5 separate regions of the Homo sapiens genome follow, and regions 1, 2, 3 and 4 are each linked to region 5. Evidence: promoter capture Hi-C in 16 types of primary human blood cells and fetal thymus (Javierre and others, 2016). All regions are on one chromosome and are shown on one strand. Each heading gives the region's core, a stretch centred on a gene start or on the middle of the fragment in contact. The rest is flanking DNA. Distances are from core to core; before and after follow the strand shown.

Region 1 (2,700 bases), core at 110-2,609, 4.5 Mb after region 5:
GCAGCCCCGCGTGGGGTGACTGCGCCGAGCCAATGGCTTCGCTGGCGGCGAGCGCGCGACTGCACCGCCGGCCGGCGCCGCGCAGCCCGGGAGGGCTCCCGGGCCCTCCTCCCCCGCCGTTGCTGGCGCTGAACTCGCCTGGCCCCCGCCCTGGCGCGGCTGAGGACTGGAACGGCGGCGGGCGGGAACCCGGCGGGGAGGGCCCGGCCACGCCCGGCCCCGGAGAGGGCGGCTGCTTCCCGGGAGCGTCCGGGCCCGGCTCCTGGGGGCGGGGAATGGGCGCGGGCCGGGGGGAGGCTGCAGAGACGGGATCTGGCCCGCGTGGAGGCGCCGGGCTGCAGGAAATGAGAGCCCTGAGGAAACCCTTCCAACTCCGAGCCGGGAAGGAGGCATCCGGGGAAGGCTGCGGGGTATGGGAAACCCCGCCCTGAAACATCCTTTTGTGCCTTCCGGCCGCGAGGAACTTAGTAGGGCGGAGGAATGGGGAGCAGCCGCAGCCCGCCGAGGCCGATGTGGCGCGATCTGCGCTCTGTGCGCCCGCTTTACAGTCACGCCCACCTCGGCTCCCTGAGGGGTGCGTGGGGGCGCAGCGCATTTCGCTGGTGCCTGCAGCGCTGTCGGGGGCAGCTGCTGCGATCCCAGCGCCCCGGGGTCCTGAGGGTTTACAGTGCCAGTGGATGGGACCCACACCGCACCGTGGGGCGGAGAGGAGGAGATGAGCTGTGGAGGAGCAAGAAAGGAAGAGTTTATATCCCACAGGAAAGGGAAACTGAGTCTTGGGGAAAACCTACTGAATCGGAGTTAAAATCAAGAGTGTCCTGACTGCCCAGGCAGAGCCTTGTCACTTCAAACGGCACTCAAGGCCCCTTCGTGGTCCTAGCAATTGAGCAGGCCTGGGACCCCTTAGCTTTGCCTGTCCAAGCCATGCTGGGATGCTCTAACTTCAGGGTCCGTGGGAAAGAAAAACGCTGATCCAGTTGATCCTCAGGAATCTACCGAGGCCAACCCCCGTGGGAGGTTGCCCTGGCAGGTACAATAACTAAAACATCTGGACCAGCCCTCGTAGCGCTCGGGCTTCTCTGCTTGAGGTCGAAGGATACATAGAATCCCTACGTAATCATGGGCTGGGGGGTGGGGGAAGAAAGAGTATGTAATTGGCTCACACCTGCTCAGCAAAGCTTAGCTAGATAAATACGGAATAATTCGAGCTGCTGTGGGCCTGACTTCCAATCTTTCTGCCCTTCACCACCTTAGCCACTTTAGGGGAATGTCTGTCCTTCCAGACTCAGAGAAGGTGTAAAATTCTCCTTTTCACTCCTATATCTCTAAAAATCTGAAGTCCCAGAAAGTAGCCGTAGGGCACGCACAAAGTTTCACCGATGGTTAATTCATCCAAGTTCAATTTAGCTGTGCATCTGAAAGAGAAAGTGAAGCACTTCCCCCTCCAGCAATCTGATATGCCGCAAGCAAGGTGAGATGATGTCGGCAAGTATTGCTGTCAACCGGTAATGGTTAAAGTCACGAGTCTGAGAAAGCTTAAAATACGCCTTTCTACTTGGCCTCTCTCTACTTGTGAAAAACCAACAGTCAGTCCCAGCTTTGCGGAGGACAGGGCAGTGGAGAGGAGTGTCCTATTAGCTCACAAAAAAACTACTTGGCAAGGGAGTAAATAAAGAGACTCAAATTAATTTAAAACAAAGTAACCTATAATTATATTGTTTGTATTCTTGTTGTATTCCCTACCCCCGTCCCTGTTGTTTGAGCGTAATGGGTTTAAATATATCTTGTTATTTACCAGTTTACCATAGAATCGTTTGTTTTGTAATAAAAGCTTCCAAGAGCTTGTGTCTGTCTCATTGGCTTCAATTGTATAGCCATTGCTATGAGGTTCTTAGTCCATAATAACTGACGTTTCCACTCGTAAATATCCAAAAATGTAAGGTATAAACTGATTTGTCTGTTCTGACTAGAGCCTAAGAGAGTATTTGGCACATAAAAGATACCAAACAAATGGTTTAAATTGACCGAGGAAGAGAACTGTCTGCAACCTGCATTTCTTACCATATTTACCATTCAGCGCAATGAGGAAAAGTAAAAAAGGGCCGAGGAGAATCTTCCACCTGCTTTGCACTGATGAAGGTGAAAAAAAAAACAAAAAACCACAGGTAAACAGGCCTCACACTTTTACTTCAGAGATCCTTGTAAAAATAAATGAGAGGCTGGGCACAGTGGCTCACACCTGTAATCCCGCACTTTGGGATGCCAAGGCAGGCAGATCAGTTGAGCCCAAGAGTTGGAGACCAGCCTCAGCAACATGGAGAAACCCCGTCTCTACAAAAAATACAAATATTAGAGACTAGGCTGGCCAACATGGTGAAACCCCGTCTGCACTAAAAATGCAAAAATCAGACGGGCATGGTGGCTGGGGCCGGTAATCCCAGCCATTCGGGAGGCTGAGGCAGGAGAATCACTTGAATCCGGGAGGCGGAGGTTGCAGTGAGCCAAGATAGCGCCACTGCACTTCAGCCTGGGCAACAAGAGCGAAACTCCATCTCAAAAAAACAAAAACAAACAAAATAAATTAGCTGAGTGTGGTGGTGGGCACCTGTGGTCCCAGCTACTGGGGGCAGGGGAAGGTTGGGGCTGAGGCAGAAAGATCAGTTGAGGCTGGGAGGCTGAGGCTGTAATAAGCCATGATCG
Region 2 (2,700 bases), core at 87-2,586, 4.7 Mb after region 5:
TATTTCACGTGCAAGTACTGAGGTCGAAATGATTGAAAATGTCCTGGGGCTCTAGGGAGAAAGAAACTGAATCTAAATCTGCAACTGATTCTACTACATGAAGGAAAAGATTTAGCAATACCAACATGTACAAAAAGAATTCTCAAAGCAATTACATTACTTCTCTCTCCCCCATCACCCCTATTCCTTGCTAAATTTATTTCCAAACTGGTTTTCTCTCTACATCCTTTCCCCTCCCCTTCAAAGCTTCTACCTAAATCTCTCTCCTCCTTGCTATTTATATCTCTGAACTCCGCAACTATTTTAACTAACTCTACCAAACCCTTTTGGGAAAAGGACATCTGCAAAAAAGCTAACATGCTAAACGCAAAGTTTAAATTATTTTCATGCAACTTGCTGTACATGAAAGGCCTTGCACTCTTCGGCGGTAAAAGGGAAGAAACGGAAACGAAATGGTTCGAAACAAAAAATTTAGGCTTCCAGTCTCAAAAATATTGGCATCTACAGTGGGGAAAAAATACACATATGCCCCCACTGTATTTTAACTTATAAGGCGCTCTTCCTTCTCGAGGCAAAATAAATGTGTATATACACCCAAGAAGGCTTGCAGCAGGGGGAAAAATAGAAATTAAATGAAGACCTGCAGGAAAAAAAAATAAAGGCGGGGGGCAAGGTGGGGAGGTGGGAGAAGATCCACCAGGCTCCCGAGCGGGAGGGACAAATCTGCACGCACCCCCACCCCGCCCCACCCACGCCTCACCCCAAGCTCGCCGGCACACCCCACCCCCACCCCCGCCACGGCGCCAGCCCCGTTCTCCAAGCCCAGTGACTCTCACCGTGACCACTTGCCTCCCGGGAGCCCTCCCCGCCCCCACCCCACCCCTCTGGACCCTACTCCCTCAAACCCGAGGGGCGCCCTGTGGCTCTGCGCGAGGCGCGGGCGGTCGCTAGGGGGTGATGGAGGGAGGAATAAGGAAGCGGTGCCTTGTCAGGGGGCGAGGGGGATTTCTCCTTTACCTGCCATGTTGCGCTGCAAATGGTGACCCTGCTGGGTTCCTCGGGGTCTCCGCTTCCTGAACTCACCCCCCTCACCTGGGGATGGGGGGGTAGAGAGGGCGGATGGCGGCGGATGGCACCTGCGGGGGGAGGGGACGGGGGCCGGGGGGAAAAGGAAGGAGGGGCGGGCAGACCAGCCGGCAGGATGCTAGATTTCACTCTGGGGCTTCCCCGCTCGTGCTCTTTCTCCGGCAGCGGCGGCGGCGACTACGACAGCGACGGCGGCGGCGGCAGCGGCAGGGGCAGGCGACTCCACTTTCAAAATGGCGCCGGCTGGCCTGGCCAGTGACGTCACCTAGGGGGCGGAGCCGCCGGGCTGGGGCGGAGAGCGGAGGGGGAGGGGCGGGGGAGCGGCCGGGCGGCTCTTGGCCACGCCCCCTTCCTGCTGCGCCTGTGCCCCGCCCTCCGTGTCCCGGCCGGCAGGGCCTGCGCCGCGCCAGCGTCTCGCCATGGCATACCCTCTGTCCGCACCGCCTGCGCCAGGCCGCGGCTGTGTGCACCTAGCAGTGTCCCAGCCTCGAGCACTAGCGCCGGGGCTCTGGGGCGGGCTTAGGAGTCCAGTTTACGTGCTCTCCTGCAAGGATTCATGGGGTCCTATGTCTTCTAGGAATACCTGGGCCGGGCACGGTGGCTCATGCCTGTAATCCCAGCACTTTGGGAGGCTGAGGCGGGCGGATCACAAGGTCAGGAGTTCGAGACCAGCCTGGCCAACATGGTGAAACCCCGTCTCTACTTAAAAATATACAAAAATTAGCCAGGCGTGGTGGTGTGCGCCTGTAATCCTAGCTACTTGGGAGGCTGAGGTGTGAGAATTGCTTGAACCCGGGAGGCAGAGGTTGCAGTGAGCCGAGATCGCACCACTGCACTCCAGCCTGGGTGACAGAGCAAGACTCCGTCTCAAAAACAAAAAACAAACAAACAAAAAACCCCGTACTGCTTCTTAGGAAATTGTCACTTTGGATTAGCCCTGAGACCACAAAGAAAGGGACAGCGGTGCAGACTTACTGCTCAGCCGGGGTGAAAGTTCACGGGGTTCAGAGGGACACGATTGGGCTGGTTCTATCTGGGTGAATTAAATTACCTTCTCGTGGGCCCCAGGATCCAAGGCGGGAGTCCTAGGCACTGCGGACACTAAGAGTGATTTCTAAGAGAAACCTGAGTTTGTGATGAGAGGGTATGGCCCAAGAAGTGACCCGGCGTCTCTCCAGCTAAACGTGTTGGACTGCGTGCTTAAGAGCTGGGCTCAGGGCCGGGCGCGGTGGCTCACGCCTGTAGTCCCAGCACTTTGGGAAGCCGAGGTGGGAGGATCGCTTGAGGCCAGGAGTTCCGAGTTCGGCCTGGAGAACATAGGGAGACCCATCTCTCCAAAAAAAATTTTTTTTTTTAAATTAGCCAGGTATGATGGCGTGCCTATAGTCCCAGCTACTAGAAGGCTGCAGTAGGAGGACTGCTTGAGCCCAGTAGGTCAAGGCTGCAGTGAGCTATGTGATCACATCACTGCACTCCAGCCTGGGAGACAGAATGCGATCCTGTCAAAACAAAAACAAAAACACAAAAAGTGCTGGGCTCTGAAGCCAGGCTGCCTAATATGATTCCAAGGCTCAGGAGATGAAGATGACAGTCCTACCTGATAGGATTGTTGGG
Region 3 (2,700 bases), core at 122-2,621, 4.7 Mb after region 5:
TTAAAGGTTTTGGGAATTAACCCATCAAAACCTGGAGCAGCAGCATCCATCTTAAAATCTCCAAACTCCATCGCTACCTGGTGAGGGCTGAAACTCTCTTCCCTAAAATAATCTTCAGGCCACACTGGAAGCACCTCCCTCTTACGAAAGATACTGCATGACCTTTAAGCATCCAAGTGGTTTTGAAAAGACTTCATCTGGCCATATGCTCACTGCTCCCATTACCTCTTTCCCAAGAGTTGAATTAAAGAAAGGTTAGGCAAGAACCCTTCCAAGAAGGCTCCCGGTTCTCACGACTAGGAACAATCTGAGGACAAGATGTCTGGGCAGCGGAATGTTATGAAAAGACCCTGGCCTGGGTTGTCTATCAGCCTCGTCCGTTAACTTTCAACTGCCCGAGTGCGTTTTTAATTCCGTTTCTTTAAATGCATGGCCCCAGACTCCCTGACGTGTGCAATCTTGGGTGGTTCAGGAGGCTGCTCTCAGCTTTACTGGGCGCACAACCCATCGCTTTAAAAAAAAAAAAATCACTTGGGCAACTTCGAGAAATCTAATAAAAAAATAAAAAAGGAAAAAGGAGAAGCAAGGCACAGCCTCTCACCCCACACGTGACTGAAGCCAACCCTAGACGAGCAAATGAATTTTCCTGACAAACGTGTGGCAACAAAGGAATGCTCGCTGGGGGGCTCCCGCGCCCGCCAGACGCTGCCCGCCCGCGAGCCCCGCACACCTGATCCCCGACACGTCCCGCGGCAGCCGCCCGCCCCGCCCCGCTCCCGCGCGTCCATCCCCCGGCGTCCCCGCCGCACGTCCCCATCCCGGCCCACGTCCCCTCCGCGGCCCGCTCCGCCCACCCGGCCTCCCCGCCCCCCAGGCCCGCCCCCGCCCCGCCCCGCCCGGCTCCGCTGCTGGGGACCACCCCCCGCACCAGGGGGATCCGCGCTACCCGCGCCGCTCCCGGACCGCGAGCCCAAACGGCCCCGGGCCCAAGACCCCAGGAGGCAACAGAGAGGCCCGGAGCAAGGCAGGCGCCCCTCCTCTTGACAGGGGACGGGAGCTGTCAGTCACCTGGACATCCCATGCCTGAGCCAATGAGCTGCCTTCTCCTCCCGCCTCCCGCGCCGCGCCGGTGGCGGCGGCCGGGGCTGCTCCTCCTCCCCCATCCCCTTCACAGAGCCTCGGCCCCGCACTCACTGTTGAGGCCGGCCGGCGGGGGCAGAGACTGCTCATTTTCCTCGCAGTTGTTGTTGTTGTTGTGCAGGGGCGGCGGCGGCTCGACTAGGTGGGACGACATTGTCGGACAGCTGGCAGGACTGCGGCAGCAGCAGGACCGTCTCCGGCACTCAGGCAGCAACACAACAAGCCGAGTCCGCCGCCCCCTTTTCTGCGCCTGCGCCGTCCCTCCCCTGCCCCTGACGTCAGGGCCCGCCCAGGCCACGTGATGACAACACAACAAGCGACCGGACGGGGCAGGGGCGCTCCCCTGCGGGCCCCGGACGTGGAGACGCTCGAGTCAGGCTGACGCGCGCGCCGGGAACGAACTCTTGCGTGTGACTTGGGATGACCGGATGGGATGAGTGATGCCAGTGGCAGTGGGAGAGAGGATGAGGAGAAACGGAATGAGGAAGTGCGCTCCTGTGTTCGCGCCCGTGCCTCCTCTCACACAGGCTCCACAGTGCTTCACCCAGCCCTGCGCACGCATCTGTTTTCTACCTCTTAGGACTCACTTCTGCAATAGGTGTCTTGGGGACACAAAGGAATCCCCAAACCCAGGTGCCTCCACGTGTAAACTCCAAATAAAGCTGCTGAAACATCAACACTCCATACGGGAAACAAGGGAAGGCCGCCCCCAAATTTAATTGTTACAGAATTTTTAAAATGTCGATTACAAACACACCATCATTCTGAAAAAAAGAGAAAGAAGAAAGGGGAAGAAAGAAAAAAGAAAAATTCAGGAAAACAGAGAGAAGAAAGTACTCACCCAAATCCCATCGACTAATCGATTTCTGGGACATGACGTGGGAAGCCGTTTATCCTGTACGTGGATGACATTAAACTATGTTCCTGAGCACACCTCCTACTTCACATCTCCATGTCTTCGTCCAGTCTCCTTGGTCTGATTTATGAGTGACATATGTTTCTCGCAGTCTCTAACTTGTCTTTTAATTTGTTTTTTTCACTCTGTAGAAGCTTAAGGTTTTCATGTAATCAGATTTATCATTCTTACATGGCTTGGGGAGACAGTCACACCAAGATTACTAATCTATAATTCCCTTATAACTTTTTCTAATTTTCTTATAGGCTTAACTTTACATTTAGAGCTCTAATCCATCTGAAATTTATTTTCCATATGCTGTAAATTATTTAACTTCAATTCTTCCCAATTTTGTAGCCCATTGACCTAATAATATTAATTTTAAGCCATCCTTTCTACACTGATTTGAAATTGCACCTTTGTCACTCTCTGAATGACCACAAAAATGTGAGTCTGTTTCAGGGCTATCTGCAATACCTCTGTTAGATAACTATTAAAGTTTCTCTTCCTTTGTCTTTTTCAGATGTTAATGGCTAGTTACTCTTCAGATGAACTTAAAAATGGACTTGTCCAAGATTGACCTTGTGTTGGTAATTATTGAAGCTATGTAATACATTAAAGTATTCCTCTAATTTTTTAATATATTTGAAAAAGTCCATGCTAAA
Region 4 (2,700 bases), core at 82-2,581, 3.3 Mb after region 5:
CATTAATATCTATTGCCATTCCCATTTTACAAATAATACAACGGAGAACCCAAAACAATTGCTATTTACAGAACAGAGCTAAATTCTTACTTTGGAAAACCAGAAAGTTCCTAAAACGGTTATTGTTAGCTATTGTTACTATCTTTGTGTCACCAGCTCCTGGTACAGTGTTTCTGGCACATTTTTAGTTTCAAATAAGTTTAGAGTTTTATGTTTATTTTTTCAAATTTAATTTTCACAAATTTGTATGTCATCCTTGAGCAGGGGCCATGTTAAAGTTCTCTGTATCATTCCAATTTTAGTATACATGCTGTCAAAGCAAGCATGTAAATAAATTTCGTTAAGTGACGCCCTCAATTTCATAGAATGAAGTCAGTGACAGTGATGTAAGAGTGTCAGTTTAAAAGGAAAAGGCTGAGGCAAAAAAAAAAAGAATGTAGAGTTTGCTTGAGTTAAAGCGGGGACAGCTGCCCAGAAGATTCCAACCCCCCTCCCCCCACCGCCCTCCACCAGCAGGCTTGGATATGAGCTCTGTCTGGCCTTTGCTACAAGCAGGTTTTTAAAGACGAAGAAGGGGGGCAGGAAGTGGGCTGATACACAACTGTCAAGCATTCTCATTGATGTATAGAAACTACAAGCATCAGTGATTGGCTAGACATTGTTAAACTATAGGGTGTGGGTCATGTCATAGTGTCTTGTGTGGCAGTGTTAGGTTAGTAGGTAGCTACCTGTGGCAGAAGCAGGTAGTTTCAGTAGATGAATACATAGCTCAAGGGGGTGGTAGAACATGATGGGGTCTTATCTTAATGCCTCTCCAGACCTAGTAATTTAAAGGGACTCACATTCCTCAGATAAAAGTGCTTTCTCAAGAGAAATAATCAGGGCAAAGCCAAGTGCTGTAGGAGCTTTACATGAATATGATTATTCCTACTTTATAGCAGGAGGACCTCTGAGGTTCAGAGGTTTGGGATGGCAGGCCTTCGATTTAAGCCAGAACAAAGTCCAATCCCCAAGAGGCATATTGTCCTGGTGAGTATCAGAAACAACTCGTTTGTGTGCTATGTTCTAAACCCTTGGCGCCCATTAACTTATTTAACCCTAAAAAATATCCTGTGAGTTAGCTGCTCTAGTATCATCTTCATTTCGCTGCTGAGGAAAGTGAAGCACAGACAGGTTAACTAACGTGCCCAAGATGCCCAGCCTCTTTCCCTTAACCCACAAATCACTGAACCAAACTCCTTGCCACTACACTTCGCCTCGCCAGGATTAAAAATGGCGCCCACGGCCGGCGTTATGACGCGCCCCGACGTCCGCCGGAAGTGCACGGAGGAGTTCCGGGGGCCAGGCGGCCGCCGCGAGTCTGGTATCCTGAGCTTCGTGAGTTGAGCGCTGCTGCTCCGCGGTGGAGTCACCGCACCGCTCCCGGGATCATGGTGTTCTACTTCACCAGCAGCAGCGGTGAGTGGGCGCCACGTCCTCCTGGACCCTGCTGGACAGCGGGCTCCGAAGCCGGGACCCGCAGTCCGCCGCTGCGCCTGACCCTCGCTCTAAAATGCCTTCTGGATGCGAGTGCCTCTTCCCGCGGCCTCTCGGTCCCCCAGCACATCCGTCCCTCCCACGGCTGCAGGATTTCCCCCGGCGTCCCCTCGTCATGGCGTGGGGGGCGCGGAGGGGCGATGCCACTGCTATGTTTGTATCGGGGAGTTCTCGTCCCCTAATCGGAAAGACGTCCCGTCACTCCCTGGGATTGGGCAGAGCCTGTGGGCTCCTCCACACACCTTATCCCAAGTCTTCTTCCCACCTTCCATCTGCGGCCTTTGTTCTGGCTGAACCCTTGTAATTATCCCCTGTGAGAAAGGAGACACCTGCTAACAACTTTTTCTTAAGGGAAGCGCGACTTACCCTTTCAGGAAGGGGTTGTAGGGTCTGGGATGCAACAGAAAACAATAAAAAGACCCTGGGATGTCCACCCAGCCACTCTCCGGGCAGTTGATGTCCCAGATCTCAGAAGTGACCTATGGTAATGCTTCTGACTTATCTTTGACAGATAAGGAAAGGGTGCCCTTCGTTCCCAGGAAATGCAGTGTCCCGACTTGGTTTCGTTCTGTTCCTGTTATTCCCCTTTCCTAAAATCAACCCCCAGCTAATTCCCTTAAGACAGTTTTGGCCCATCTTTTCCAAGATGCCTTTCCTGATGCTAGCTCCTACCCCAAGATTGCTTAGCTATTCCTTTCCTGGGACCCACTTAACGTTCCAAGTATGCCTTTGGCATTGCACTTATCACGTGGTATTAAATGGTGTCTGCTTGAGCTAGAGTGTAAGTCCCTTGAGGGCGTGGACAGGATCTCTTTACAGTAGTCCCTACTTGTCCTGTATTTCGCTTTCCGTGGTCACATCATCACAAGAAGAAAAGGAGTGAGTACAGTACAATAAGGTTTTGAGAGAGAGAGAGAGCAGAGTCACCTAACTTTTATTACAGTACGTTGTTATAATCGTTCTATTTTATTATTAGTTATTGTCAATAATCTCTTACTCCACCGAACTGATACATTAACTTTATCATAGGTATACATATATAGGGAATACCAGTAGCCATGCGTCCCTTAATGACAAGAATACATTCTGAGAAATGCTCCATTAGGCGGTTTCATTGTTGTAGCAACACGGTAGAGTATACTTAAACCTGTGGTATAGCCTACC
Region 5 (2,700 bases), core at 147-2,646:
AACCTGCTTGTAACCAAGGCTGAAGGAGCACTCCCCAAGGCAACTGGGAAATGAGTCCTGGGCAGCTGTCCTCATTTTGGCTGAAGTAAACACTTTAAATTATAATTTTGTGCCCCAGCCTCTTCCTTTTAGGTAGACACCACTATTCAATGACATCAAGATCTGAACTGTCCTACTTATCCCAATATCCCACCCCTAAAAAGAAATGTACCGAACCATAAAAAGCCTGAAGTACTCCGACTTACAGACTCCTGTATTAGCATCCTAAGAATTATATTACCCTCTTCAATAGGGAGTAGTATTTTTCATATCAAACCTAGCCTGAGAACAACTGAGATTCAACTAGGAAAAAAAGAAAAGAAAATCCATTAAAGACTGAGTGATTTGAACTCAAAAATATCCATCATCACTTGCTAAATCATAGACAGCAGGTTATTTCCCTCGACTTTGCTGTGCAGACCTGTAGTGGCTCAATTTCTGCCATAATAAAGGCCGTACTAGAAAGAGCAATCCTAACTAAGCGCGCAAGGTAAACATCAAGCTGGGGCCGTCAGGGGCGGGGAAACACTTTCTGAATGGCGGAAGCTCCGAGAGACGCCTTTCCCAGCTGCTCCAGAGGGGAAAGGAAAAGGGAGAAAGTCTGTTTTTCCAGAATCTCCCAAACACAGCCCAGGGGCCTGCTCCGCGGGCCTAAGCGCCTCCACGTGTCTCAGAAGCCTAGCACTATAGATACCCCGGGGCACGGAGCTGGGAAAACGGGAATAGGAAGACACTTTACCCCGAGAAGATCCAGTCCAACAGGTCTTCTTCAGCCGGATGACTGTGGAGCGCCACCACAAGCAGGGCCTGCAACCCAGGCATCCAGGCTAGACACCAAATCAGCAAACTTTATTCCCGCGCTGCCGAGTACAAGCCGGCGCCTCCCCGGCGCACACAGTACACATCAGCTCCGGGAGACCTACCCGACCCGCCCCTCCAGCGCCGTCCCCGCCCCCGTTCCTGCCCCACCCCTTTCCCCGCCCCCGGCCCGGCTCGCCTTTCTCGCGGCGCTGCAACCCTCCCACCACAGCCCATCCAGCCCCGCCCAGCGCGCCGCGGTGCGCATGCGTGGAGGCCCTCGCTGCCGCTGAGCACCTCGGGAAGTGTAGTCTCTTCGCAGGTGCGGCTGGGCAGCTAGAGTCCTGCATCCCGGTGGAATCCGGAGAAGTGAGAACATTCCCGCCGCCCGGTCCTCATTCCCATCTTCCCACCTGTCCAGTCCCCTCGCACTCCCGCTGCACCCCACGCGCCGGGCTTCAGTCAGAGAGTGCACTGAGGAAGAGCGGAGACCCCCTCTTCCCCTCAGCAGGCTGTGCCGGGGGAGGCGGGGTCCACCGCCCGCCCCCCGCCGTCGCTCTCCCCGCCTCCCCTTCCCTCCCCTCCTGGCGGGTGCGGGGCCGGTGTCCGAAGTCAGGCGGCGGCCCCCGCAGCGGCCGCAGGAGGGGCGGCTGCGGTGGGCGCCGCGGGCGATGCCCCTGCCCGGCTGCTCCGGCGGGGGGCAGTGCGAGCGGCGGCGGCGGGGGAGGAGGCGGGGGGCGGCGGCTGCGGCGGCTGCAGCAGAGGGGCCGAGAGCTGGCGGTGGCGGCGGCGGTGGTCGTGAAGGGCATCGGCGGCGGCGGTGATGGCAGAGATGATGTGAGTGCCCGCCGGCTGGAGACCTGGGGCCGCGGAGCGCGGGACGGGCGGCGGCGGCGTGCGGGAGCGGCCCCGGGGGCGGCGGAGGGATGCGGGGAGCGCGGGCAGAGCCGGAGCGGCGGCCGCCAACCGGCCGGCAGTGGCTGGAGCCCCGCGCTGCGGCGCCGGGGGAGCCGGGCCCGGCGTGGGGGTCGCGGGCGGCGGCGGGGCGGTCAGGCCGAGGGGCGTCTGCGATTGTTCTCAACACCCCTCCCCCACCCCATCCCGTGTGTCTGTTTGTTACTTGCAGCTGAAGATGGAAAGAGCCAGGCGAAGGGGAGGCGGCGGCGGCCGCGGCCGCGGAGGCAAGAATGTAGGGGGCTCTGGCCTAAGCAAGAGTAGACTCTATCCCCAGGCCCAGCACTCCCACTACCCCCACTACGCGGCCTCAGCCACCCCTAATCAGGCCGGGGGCGCAGCCGAAATCCAGGAGCTGGCCTCCAAACGAGTGGACATCCAGAAAAAGAGGTTTTACCTAGACGTGAAGCAAAGCTCCCGGGGCCGCTTCCTAAAGATAGCCGAAGTCTGGATAGGGAGAGGCCGGCAGGACAACATCAGAAAGAGTAAACTGACCCTCTCCCTGTCTGTGGCAGCGGAGCTGAAGGACTGTCTAGGGGACTTCATCGAGCACTATGCCCACCTGGGCCTGAAAGGCCACCGGCAAGAGCATGGCCACAGCAAAGAGCAAGGCTCCAGAAGGAGGCAGAAGCACTCGGCACCCTCCCCACCAGTCTCGGTGGGGTCCGAAGAGCATCCTCACAGTGTCCTGAAAACAGACTATATCGAGAGGGACAATAGGAAATATTACCTAGACCTAAAGGAAAATCAGCGGGGTCGCTTCCTACGGATTAGACAAACCATGATGCGGGGGACTGGCATGATAGGTTATTTTGGCCACAGTTTGGGCCAAGAACAGACTATTGTCCTCCCAGCACAAGGAATGATTGAGTTTCGTGATGCCTTGGTTCAGCTGATTGAAGACTATGG

The links. The method cuts DNA at HindIII sites, captures the fragments that hold promoters and counts their contacts. A CHiCAGO score of 5 or more calls a contact.
Region 1: a contact is called between a fragment that was not itself captured here and the fragment with the promoter of PURG in region 5, in 1 of 17 cell types (total CD8 T cells). The highest score is 5.8, in total CD8 T cells.
Region 2: the fragment with the promoter of PPP2R2A here is called in contact with the fragment with the promoter of PURG in region 5 in 3 of 17 cell types (naive B cells, total B cells and naive CD4 T cells); the score reaches 6.7 in naive B cells.
Region 3: the fragment with the promoter of BNIP3L here is called in contact with the fragment with the promoter of PURG in region 5 in 3 of 17 cell types (non-activated CD4 T cells, total B cells and naive CD8 T cells); the score reaches 12.0 in non-activated CD4 T cells.
Region 4: a contact is called between the fragment with the promoter of CCDC25 here and the fragment with the promoter of PURG in region 5, in 7 of 17 cell types (fetal thymus, total B cells, total CD4 T cells and 4 more). The highest score is 8.5, in fetal thymus.

The regions. Positions count from the first base shown.
Region 1 is chr8:26,574,806-26,577,505 of GRCh38, reverse strand. All of the region lies in intron 1 of DPYSL2 (dihydropyrimidinase like 2), which reads right to left. Among named protein-coding and RNA genes, the nearest start is that of DPYSL2, 62 kb to the right of the region's middle. RefSeq lists silencers at 1-379, 420-619 and enhancers at 1-423, 424-1,121, 1,220-1,389. The HindIII fragment of the contact is 357 bases long and covers 1,181-1,537 here.
Region 2 is chr8:26,290,144-26,292,843 of GRCh38, reverse strand. PPP2R2A (protein phosphatase 2 regulatory subunit Balpha) reads right to left here and starts at 1,336. Exons shown (of 10, transcript NM_002717.4): 1 at 1,018-1,336. The coding sequence starts at 1,024. RefSeq lists a silencer at 1,185-1,534. The HindIII fragment of the contact is 3,300 bases long and covers 249-2,700 here.
Region 3 is chr8:26,381,725-26,384,424 of GRCh38, reverse strand. It overlaps BNIP3L (BCL2 interacting protein 3 like), which reads right to left and starts at 1,371. Exons shown (of 6, transcript NM_004331.3): 1 at 1,195-1,371. The coding sequence starts at 1,294. It also overlaps the pseudogene SDAD1P1. RefSeq lists a silencer at 622-1,211 and enhancers at 1,422-1,721, 1,695-2,700. The HindIII fragment of the contact is 3,600 bases long and covers 1-2,192 here.
Region 4 is chr8:27,771,271-27,773,970 of GRCh38, reverse strand. It overlaps CCDC25 (coiled-coil domain containing 25), which reads left to right and starts at 1,331. Exons shown (of 9, transcript NM_018246.3): 1 at 1,331-1,458. The coding sequence starts at 1,431. It also overlaps a transcript of ESCO2 not described here and the pseudogene RNU6-1276P. RefSeq lists an enhancer at 1,338-1,647. The HindIII fragment of the contact is 7,740 bases long and covers 1-2,700 here.
Region 5 is chr8:31,032,052-31,034,751 of GRCh38, reverse strand. PURG (purine rich element binding protein G) reads left to right here and starts at 1,396. Exons shown (of 2, transcript NM_001323311.2): 1 at 1,396-1,674; 2 at 1,964-2,700. The coding sequence starts at 1,970. It overlaps WRN (WRN RecQ like helicase), which reads right to left and starts at 942. Exons shown (of 35, transcript NM_000553.6): 1 at 779-942. RefSeq lists an enhancer at 668-1,189 and silencers at 945-1,204, 1,365-1,414. The HindIII fragment of the contact is 5,494 bases long and covers 1-2,700 here.